3 separate regions of the Homo sapiens genome follow, and all the other regions are linked to region 1. Evidence: promoter capture Hi-C in human tissues and cell types (Jung and others, 2019). All regions are on one chromosome and are shown on one strand. Each heading gives the region's core, a stretch centred on a gene start or on the middle of the fragment in contact. The rest is flanking DNA. Distances are from core to core; before and after follow the strand shown.

The links. The method cuts DNA at HindIII sites, captures the fragments that hold promoters and counts their contacts. A contact is called where the count stands out against the background at its distance.
Region 2: a contact is called between a fragment that was not itself captured here and the fragment with the promoter of ZC3H3 in region 1, in 1 of the 25 tissues and cell types used here (dorsolateral prefrontal cortex).
Region 3: a contact is called between a fragment that was not itself captured here and the fragment with the promoter of ZC3H3 in region 1, in 2 of the 25 tissues and cell types used here (IMR-90 fibroblasts and lymphoblastoid cells).

Annotation. Positions count from the first base shown.
Region 1 is chr8:143,539,943-143,542,885 of GRCh38, reverse strand. It overlaps ZC3H3 (zinc finger CCCH-type containing 3), which reads left to right and starts at 1,439. Exons shown (of 12, transcript NM_015117.3): 1 at 1,439-1,510. The coding sequence starts at 1,465. It also overlaps the pseudogene RN7SKP175. The HindIII fragment of the contact is 13,358 bases long and covers 1-2,943 here.
Region 2 is chr8:143,778,196-143,781,138 of GRCh38, reverse strand. All of the region lies in intron 7 of IQANK1 (IQ motif and ankyrin repeat containing 1), which reads right to left. Among named protein-coding and RNA genes, the nearest start is that of MIR937, 33 kb to the left of the region's middle. The HindIII fragment of the contact is 4,347 bases long and covers 1-2,943 here.
Region 3 is chr8:143,332,602-143,335,544 of GRCh38, reverse strand. TOP1MT (DNA topoisomerase I mitochondrial) reads left to right here and starts at 665. Exons shown (of 14, transcript NM_052963.3): 1 at 665-805. The coding sequence starts at 684. RefSeq lists a silencer at 508-967 and enhancers at 1,168-1,217, 757-1,441. The HindIII fragment of the contact is 3,497 bases long and covers 1-2,943 here.

The DNA of each region.
Region 1 (2,943 bases), core at 190-2,689:
GTGCAGTGGCTTGATCTTGGCTCATTGCAACCTCCGCCTCCTGGGTTCAAGCGATTCTTCTGCCTCAGCCTCCTGAGTAGCTGGGACCACAGGTGTGCGCCACCACGCCTGGCTAATTTTTTATATTTTTAGCAGAGACGGGGTTTCACCATGTTGACCACGCTTGTCTCAAAACTCCTGACCTCGTGATCCGCCCGCCTCAGCCTCCCAAAGTGCTAGGATTACAGGCGTGAGCCACTGCGCCCGGCCGAATTTCCTTCCATTTTAAGGCTGAAAAATATTTCATTGTTTGTATGGATCACATTTTGTTTATCCTTCCATCCACCCGTGGACACTTGGGTTGTTTCCGTCTTTTGGCTATTGGGAAAAATGCTGCAGTGAACATGGGGGCACAAATATGTTTGAGTCTCTGGTTTCCATTCTTTTGGGAATATAGCCAGAAGTAGGGTTGCTGGATCATACCGTAGTTCCATTTTTGTTTTCTCCTAGAAAGGCAGATTGCCACATGCAGCGCCTCATTTGGATGTGTCTGGAATCTTGACTACCCTACCTTCTCCTACAAATGGACCTTGAGAGCTTGTTTGGAGGTTCTACCAGGGAAGCCCAGCTCTTCTATTGGGTATGGTCGTTCTCTTCGACTGAGCTGCAGCTTCGGGAGGGACGCACATGAAGCAGTGAGGAAGGAAGGGGACACCCGCCTAGCCAGCCAGATCAGCCGAATCAACCCTGGCGATCAATGGGATGACAGGTGTCGCAGCCAGATCGCCCTCATATCCGGTAGTTCTACTTTTAACCTTTTGTGGAATCTCCATAGTTTTCTGCGGTGCTGCGCCATTTACATTCCCACCAACAGCGCACAGAGGTTTACACTTGTACATGTTTCCAATGACGAACTAAAAACTTTCATGTTTTCAGAGGTTCAACATGTCTATCCAGGGAACCTTGCTCTCCGATGTCTTCTCCTCTGGCCACAGTAAGAGGTTTCACAGACCCTCCTGGGTCAAGAGTAATTGTTAACTGGCCCTTCTCCCATGGGTCCCCGCGTAGACCCCCCCCCCCCCAACACTCAACTGGGGCGAAATGAAACGCAGGGACTGTGGGAAGGAACTGCGGTATGGGCTGGGTGGGCCCCAGGTCTCGCCCCTCGCCAAGTCTCCCAAGGGGACGCGATCCCGGACTGCACAAGCTGGGCCCGCGCGGCCTCCCAGAGCCCAAGCAGTCCCTTCCCAGCCGTTACCAGGCCACTTCCCGGCGCTCACTAGTGACGTCCCCGCCTCGTTCTGCGCGTGCGCGGCTCTGCCTCTCCGCTGCCGTTGTCAGCGCGACGGCGGGTCCTCGGCGGTCGGCAGACATCCGGGCCTGCTCCTGGCAGCTCCGCCCTGGCCCGCTCCGCCCCGCCCGCGGGAAAAAGGTCGCGTAGCGATGACGTCGTGGGGGCCTGGCCGGCCGTCGCGGACTCGGGAGATGGAGGAAAAGGAGATATTACGGCGGCAGATCCGCCTACTGCAGGGTAGGTCCGGCCGGGGCCGGGACGCGAGTCCCCTTCTTTCCCCCTCACCTCGCGGCGGGTCCCCTGCCCCCTTGTCGAAGGGGTCGCTCACCGCCCGCGTGTTCTGGGTGGCGGCTGGGGTGGGGGACGGTAGGGTCCGCCAGGACTTGTGGGCCGGCTCAGGGCCCGGGTCAGTCCCCGGCTCCAGCTTTGTCGAGGGAGTGGTGCCGGCCCTGCTGGGGCTGCAGAGGGTGGAGGCAGGGCCGTCGCTTAGTAACCCGCGGGGGGCGGCGGCCCTCCCCACCACCGCGGGCTGTCGCGTCCCCCGGCGCCCACTCTCTCCCCGCGCCCCACTGCGGGGCTGGGACTAGTTCATGGCTCATTTCGGCAGAGCAGGCTAAGGGCGCACGCGGGTTCCTTCCTTGACGCCCGGTTTTTTTTGAGACAGAGTCTTGCTCTGTCACCCAGGCTGGGGTGCGGTGACGCGATCACGGCTCACTGCAATCTCCTCATCCTGGGTTCGAGTGATTCTCCTGCCTCAGCCTCCGGAGTACGTGGGATTACAGGTAGGCGCCAGAACGCCTGGCTAATTTTTGTATTTTGAGTAGAGACGGGGTTTCACCATGTTGGCCAGGATGGTCTCTAACTCCCGACCTCAGGTGATTCACCCGCCTCGGCCTCCCAAAGTGCTGGGATTACAGGCATGAGCCACCGCTCCCAGCCTCGACGCCCGGTTTTGATGCCCCTTTTCTCCGAACAGTCACACTCCCCTTGCCATTCCAGGCGCAGACTGAACAGGCTTCAGCTTCCACACTTAAACATTAAAAAACCCAAATTGGTCTTTCTAAACTTAAAAAGAAAATCCATGTTCGGACGCAGTGGCCCACACCTGTAATCCCAGCACTTTGGGAGGCTATGGCAGGAGGATGGCTTGAGCCCGGGAGTTTGAGACCATCCTGGGCAACATGACGAGAGCCCGTCTCTACAGAAAAATTTTAAAAAGTGAGATGGGCGTGGTGGCTTGCGCCTGTAGTCCCAGCTACTCAGAGGTGGAAGGTTTGCTTGTGCCCTGGAGGTCCCGGCTGCAGTGAGCCGTGATTGGGCCACTGCACTCCAGCCTGGGCAACAGAGAAAAACCACATCTCAAATAAAAAGCCAAAACCAACCAAACAAAAAAAAGCTTTAAAAATTAAAAATCCTTTTTGCTTTTACTCTCACAAAGGGAAGACTTAAGGATTGGGAAAGTGTGTATGGATAAGAGGCCAGGTGGGCTGCCTCCCACTTGGGGACACTTCTTGAGCTCCCATCACACCTGCTCTGGGGCGTCAACACGTCTGGACGTGGCTTTCTGTGCCCCCGGGGGCAGGGCCTGTGGTGGGGGAATGCTGATAACTGGGAGGCTGGCTGCTGCCGCCCTTGCCTGTGTTCCTGGCCCTCCTGCACCGGGGTAGCTA
Region 2 (2,943 bases), core at 321-2,820, 240 kb before region 1:
ACTTTTCAAAATAAGACATGCATGTGGCCAGCAAGCATATGAAAAAAAGCTCAATATCACTGATCATCAGAGAAATGCAAATCAAAACCACAATGAGGATACACCATCTCATACCAGCCAGAATGGCTACTATAAAAAGTCAAAAAATAACAGATGCTGGTGAGGTTGTGGAGAAAAGGGAACACACACACACTGTTGGTGGGAGTATAAATTAGTTCAGCCACTGTGGAAAGCAGTATGGGAATTCCTCAAAGACCTAAAAGCAGAACTACCATTGGACCCAGCAATCCCATTACTGGGTATATACCCAGAGGAATATAAAGCAGTGTACCATAAAGACACATGCACGCATATGTTGACTGCAGCACTATTCACAATAGCAAAGACATGGACTCAACCTAAATGCCCATCAGTGACAGACAAGATAAAGAAAATGTGGTACATGCACACCGTGGAATACTATGCAGCCATAAAAAAAGAATGAGATCATGTCCTTTGCAGGAACATGGATGGAGCTGGAGGCCATTATCCTCAGCAAACTATCGCAGGAACAGAAAACCAAACACCACATGTTCTCACCTGTAAACGGGAGCTAAAGGATGAGAACTTAGGAACACAAAGAAGGAAACAACAGATACTAGGATCTACTTGAGGGTGGAGGGTGGGAGGAGGGAGGGGAGCAGAAAACTATTGGGTACTGGGCTTAGTTCCTGGTGAGGAAATAATCTGTACGACAAATCCCCATGACTATGTCACCTGCATAACAAACCTTCACATGTACCCCCAAACCTAAAAGAAAAGTTAAAAAAAGATGACTTAACATCTCTGTGCTTAAGTTTCTTTGTATATAATAAAGTCTTTGTATATAATGTAGGAATATTAATAATACTACAATCAGGTTTGTTGAGAGGATTAAACTGGGAACTTTATACATATTTCAGGAAAGTTTTGTAACTTGAAAAAAAGAAGGAAGCAAGCACTATAAAATTCAGGATATGATGATCTGGGGAGAGGTGTGGTGTTCTGGCGATACTTTATTTCTTGAGTCAGGTAGTTACTACATGAGTATTTCCTTTGTGGTAAATAATTGAGCCACAACTTTGATTTCTGCAATATTCTGTATGTCATTTGTAATTAAAAAGGAAAGTCTGAAGATGTATAAAATCAAGGAGTAGCTAAAATGAGAGAAGGGATGAATGGATAACTAGATAAATAGGATGGAAGAGTGAACAGACATACGAATGAGGCAATGATTTTGTAACTTAAAAGAAATTGTGATACTCATTTAAAATAATAATAGCTACCATTTCTTGAGAACTGACTTTGCACCAGGAATTGTGCCAAGGAATTTCATTCACTATCTCATGAATCTTCAAAAAGCTGTTATTAGTCCCATTTCTGAATATATGGAAACAGATTCAAATAAGCTTCAGAACTTGCCAAAGTTCTGTCTGTAAGTGGAAGAACTGGAGTAGACGGAAAATGAATGAAGACAGAAAATAAAAGGATAATATAACGAGTAAACTTACGAGTGTCTTAATGAATAGGCAATAAATGATGAATGAATGAGTAAATTAATGAATTAAACTATAAGAGAATGAAGATTAGATTAATTGAATGAACTGATTAAATGATGAACTGATACATGAAAAATTAATAGATGAATGAGTGTAAAGAATGGATACGTGAGATAAGCAAATGGTTAGTTGAGCAACTGGATGGATGAATTGATGGATGAATTCATCGTTCAACAAAATGTTTCAGTGCCTATCGTGGTCAACCAATACTGGGGCATACGATTAAGGGGTGAACGAGACACAGTCCTTCTTTGCTTTCTCATAATTTTCTGTCAAGTAAACAGCATGAATGCGTGTATGAATGGATGAATGGATGTCTGAATGAATAGTAGATAAAAAATAAGTGAATAATTATTTAAACATGGTGTAAGGGTGGAATGGGCACATTAATGAGTGGATAGCTTATAAGTTTATAAATTTATATATGTTTATAAGTTCATAAATTTATATATAAGCTTATAAATTTATTTATAAGTTTATAAATAAATGACTCATGGCTGGGCATGGTGGCTCACACCTGTAATCCCAGCACTTTGGGAGGCCGAGGCAGGCAGCCCACCTGAGGTCAGGAGTTCGAAACCAGCTGGCCAACATGGCAAAACCCCATCTCTACTTAACATACAAAAGAACAAATTAGCTGGGCGTGGTGGCGCATGCCTGTAGTCCCAGCTACTCTGGAGGCTGAGGCAGGAGAACCGCATAAACCCGGGAGGCAGAGGTTGCAGTGAGATTGCGCCACTGCCCTCCAGCCTGGGTGACAGAGCAAGACTCCATCTCTAAATAAATAAATAAATGACTCAAGTTAATAAGATAATTATGAATTGGCGAAAGCGCAAACCAATACTGGGGCGAGATGGATGAAGTGGGTGAATGTATGGAAACGATGACTGATGAATGATGAAGGGATGGTGATGGACAGCGTGGTTCAGCTCTTCGGTATCATCGCTGATATTCCGTCTACTTGTCTCATCAATTATGGGGAGAGAGAGATGGCAAAATCGCCTATTACCATTGTGGATCTCTTTATTTCTCCTTGTAGTTCTCATAGTTTTTGCTTCATGCATTTTGAAACCCTGTTAGTAGCTGCATGAACATTTAGGATTTTTATGTCCTCATGATGAATTCCTACATTTGTCATTACTAAATGATTCTTTTATCCTTAGTAACATACTTTTTTCTGAAATCTACTTGATGTTAATACAGTTACTTCAGCATCCTGTTTAGTGTTATCTTGGCATATTTGTTTTTATCATTTTAATTTTCAACTATTTGTGCTTTTACATTTAAAGCTTGTTTCTTATAGGTAGAACATAGTTAGCTACAATTTTTAATCCAAAATGACAATCCATCTTTTTTTTTTTTGTTT
Region 3 (2,943 bases), core at 328-2,827, 210 kb after region 1:
CTGGTCAGGGTCAGCAGTCACGCTGGGGACTGAGCGCAGGAAGGAGGCTCCAGCTGTGCCTGGTCTCTGGTCTCCTTGGGAGTGAGAGGCTGGTTGGCAGGGATGATTTCGCAGGACTTCCTGTGACCTTTGTCCAGAGGCACCACCTCTGAGGGGCTGCTGTGGGCTGGACAGCAGGTGCTTCTGCCGGTTTCTGCGTCCTGGAAGTGCTGCTGTTTGTAGGGGATGAGGTAGGGGGCCATCTGAGCCTGTGTGGTCCCTTCTCCAGAGCAGCAGAGCGTGTACTTAGGAAGGACCTGCTAGGTGCCCCTGCCCTCAGAGGCTCTGGGAGAGAGCTGTGTGCAAGCCCTGGGCAGGAGTTCACTGGCCTGGTCGTGTGACCTGTGGGGCATCCTGACAGCCAGCCCTGTGCTGCAGAGGTCAGTGGGACTGGGTTTGGATCTGGGTCCCCGCCCAGCGTGAAGGGGCGCTGGACCACGAAGGCAGGGAAACCAGGGGGAGGCCGGCAGGACAGTCAGTGGTCCTGCTGCCGCAGCCCCGTGCAGGCTTAGACCGCCCAGCCTTGGGATGAGCGCCGCTGGGGGCGGAGGCCGCGCTCGGGGGCGGGGCTGGCCGCTGGGGGCGGGGCGGGGCTGGCCGCTGGGGCGGGGCCCAGCTTGTCGCTCTTTCCCGGAGGCTGGCAGATGCGCGTGGTGCGGCTGCTGCGGCTCCGGGCGGCTCTGACGCTGCTCGGGGAGGTCCCCCGCCGCCCGGCCTCCCGGGGTGTCCCGGGCTCGCGCAGGACGCAGAAGGGCAGTGGAGCCAGGTAAGGTGTCCCAGTGAGCAGGCGGCGAGGGCCCTGAGCACCGGGCTTGGGTAGGTCCAGAAAGGGGAGTGGCAGGCCTCGTGGGACGGCCTTGCCCTGCTTCCGGTTTTCCCAAAAGTCGGGCCAGGAGAGCATGCGTGCCGCGGTGTGACCGGCCCGCCTCCTGCCCGGGGTGTACAGGCCCCCCCATGACGTCGCCCTTGCTTCCCCAGGCACCACCCCACCAACCCTATTTGGGGAAATCTCCCCTCTTTTTTTCCGCTTGTGGTTTCATCATTTGTGTAGCTGTGCCTGGGCCTCAACACTGTAGGGTTTGGTTAGGTACTTTATAAAAAGCTTATGTTGCTGTGCATGGTCTTCTGAGACCCGCTCTTTCCTGGAGTCGGTTCCCGGGTTGTCTCCAGGACCGATTCTGCATGGCGGCGGGCGCTCACTGTCATATCTACATCACCAGGCACAAGCCGCATGGATCCAGTGGCCCTGGTGGCCGTTGGTGGTCCCAGGCGCTTTCCTGGAGGACATGTGAGAAGCCCTGCCGGCGCATACTGGGCCTGGGGTAGCCGCATGGGGATGGGTCTCTGCGCATGAAATGCTGGAGTTTCCGAAGAGCTGGAGAGTTGACAGCCTCACTGGTGCGTGGGAGATCCTGCAGGAGTTCCCGCCAGGTCTCGCGGTTTATCATCATTCACTTAGTGCTTCCAGCGTGGCATGTCTCTGTGACCTGGTGGTGCGCTATCAGCATACCCATTCACAGCTGAGGGCCTGCACAGCTGCCTAAGGCCATGCTGCAGAAATGTCCTGTCTGCCTGCAGGAGCTTGGGACCCAAAGAGAGCCCCAGATGGGGCAGGGTGTCTTGGGAGGAGGGAGTTCTGGCCTGCGCTTGGAGCTGGGGCTGGCTGTGGGCCCTGCATTGAGGCACATCTCTCCGAGGGTGCACAGGCAGGTAGGTGCTTTCCAAAAAGTGCTGCTGAGCTGCAGTCGCCCAGGTGGACAGGTGGGTTTGGAGCAAGGTCTCTGGCTTTGAAAGCCAGCTTGTGTCTGATGGTGGTGCTTGGTGCCCTGGTCTCTGCAGGGGTGAAAGAATGTCACTACAATGTGCAGCCCTCAGTTGGGCTTGAGCGCACACCCAGTGGTGCAGCCCTGCCTGGCCGCTGGCCGGCAGGTTGTTTCACCTCAGTGTCTTCATCTGTGAAATGAGACTGGTGATGTGACTACCCTAGAGGCTTTGTGAAGGACTTGGCAGTCAGGGTCACTGTCAGTTCTTTATTTTTATTTTTATTATTATTATTTGAGACAAAATCTTGCCCTGTCACCCAGGCTGGAGTGCAGTGGTGCAATTTCAACTCACTGCAACCTCTGCCTCCTGGGTTCAAGTGATTCTCCTGCTTCAGCCTCCTTGAGTAGCTGGGATTACAGGCACCCGCCACCACGCCTAGCTAATTTTTGTATTTTTAGTAGAGACGGGGGTTTTGCCATGTTGGCCAGGCGGGTCTCGAACTCCTGGCCTCAAGTGATCCGCCCGCCTCGGCCTCCCAAAGTGCTGGTATTACAGGCGTGAGTCACCGCGCCTGGCTCCTATCAGTTAGTTCCGAGATACACGTGGTTTCCCATTTTCTCACACCCGACATGATCCATCTTCCCTTATTCTCTAAGAAGGCGTTGTCTAGGTTTGCATCCTTCAGGGCACTTAGTGGTGCAGCCTCCTACCAGCCCCACCCTAGACATGCTGTATCAGGGCTGGTGGGCTCTCTTGAACTCCTAAAACCTGTAAGAAAGGTGAGGCTGGTCTCACCTGACGTGGAAAAGCTCTGCAGAGTCAGCAGAACCCCCCTCTCCCCGAGTCTCCCTCCAGACTCCAGCTGCCTGCAGCATCTGCCAGCTAGTTTTTTTGTACTTTCGCCATGTTGGCCAGGCTGGCCTTGAGCTCCTGAGCCTGCCTCAGCCTCCCAAAGTGCTGGGATCACAGGCGTGAGCCACCACGCCCGGCTCCACCCTGGAAGGTTCTTGAGCCCGTTAACTTCTCCCTACTTTATCAGCTCCGTCTCTACGTCTTCTAACCTTGCCCATTCCCTCCTCTGCAGAAACAGCCAGAAAGGCCCTTTCAGAAATGTCTGTTGCACATGCTTTCCCCTCTCAG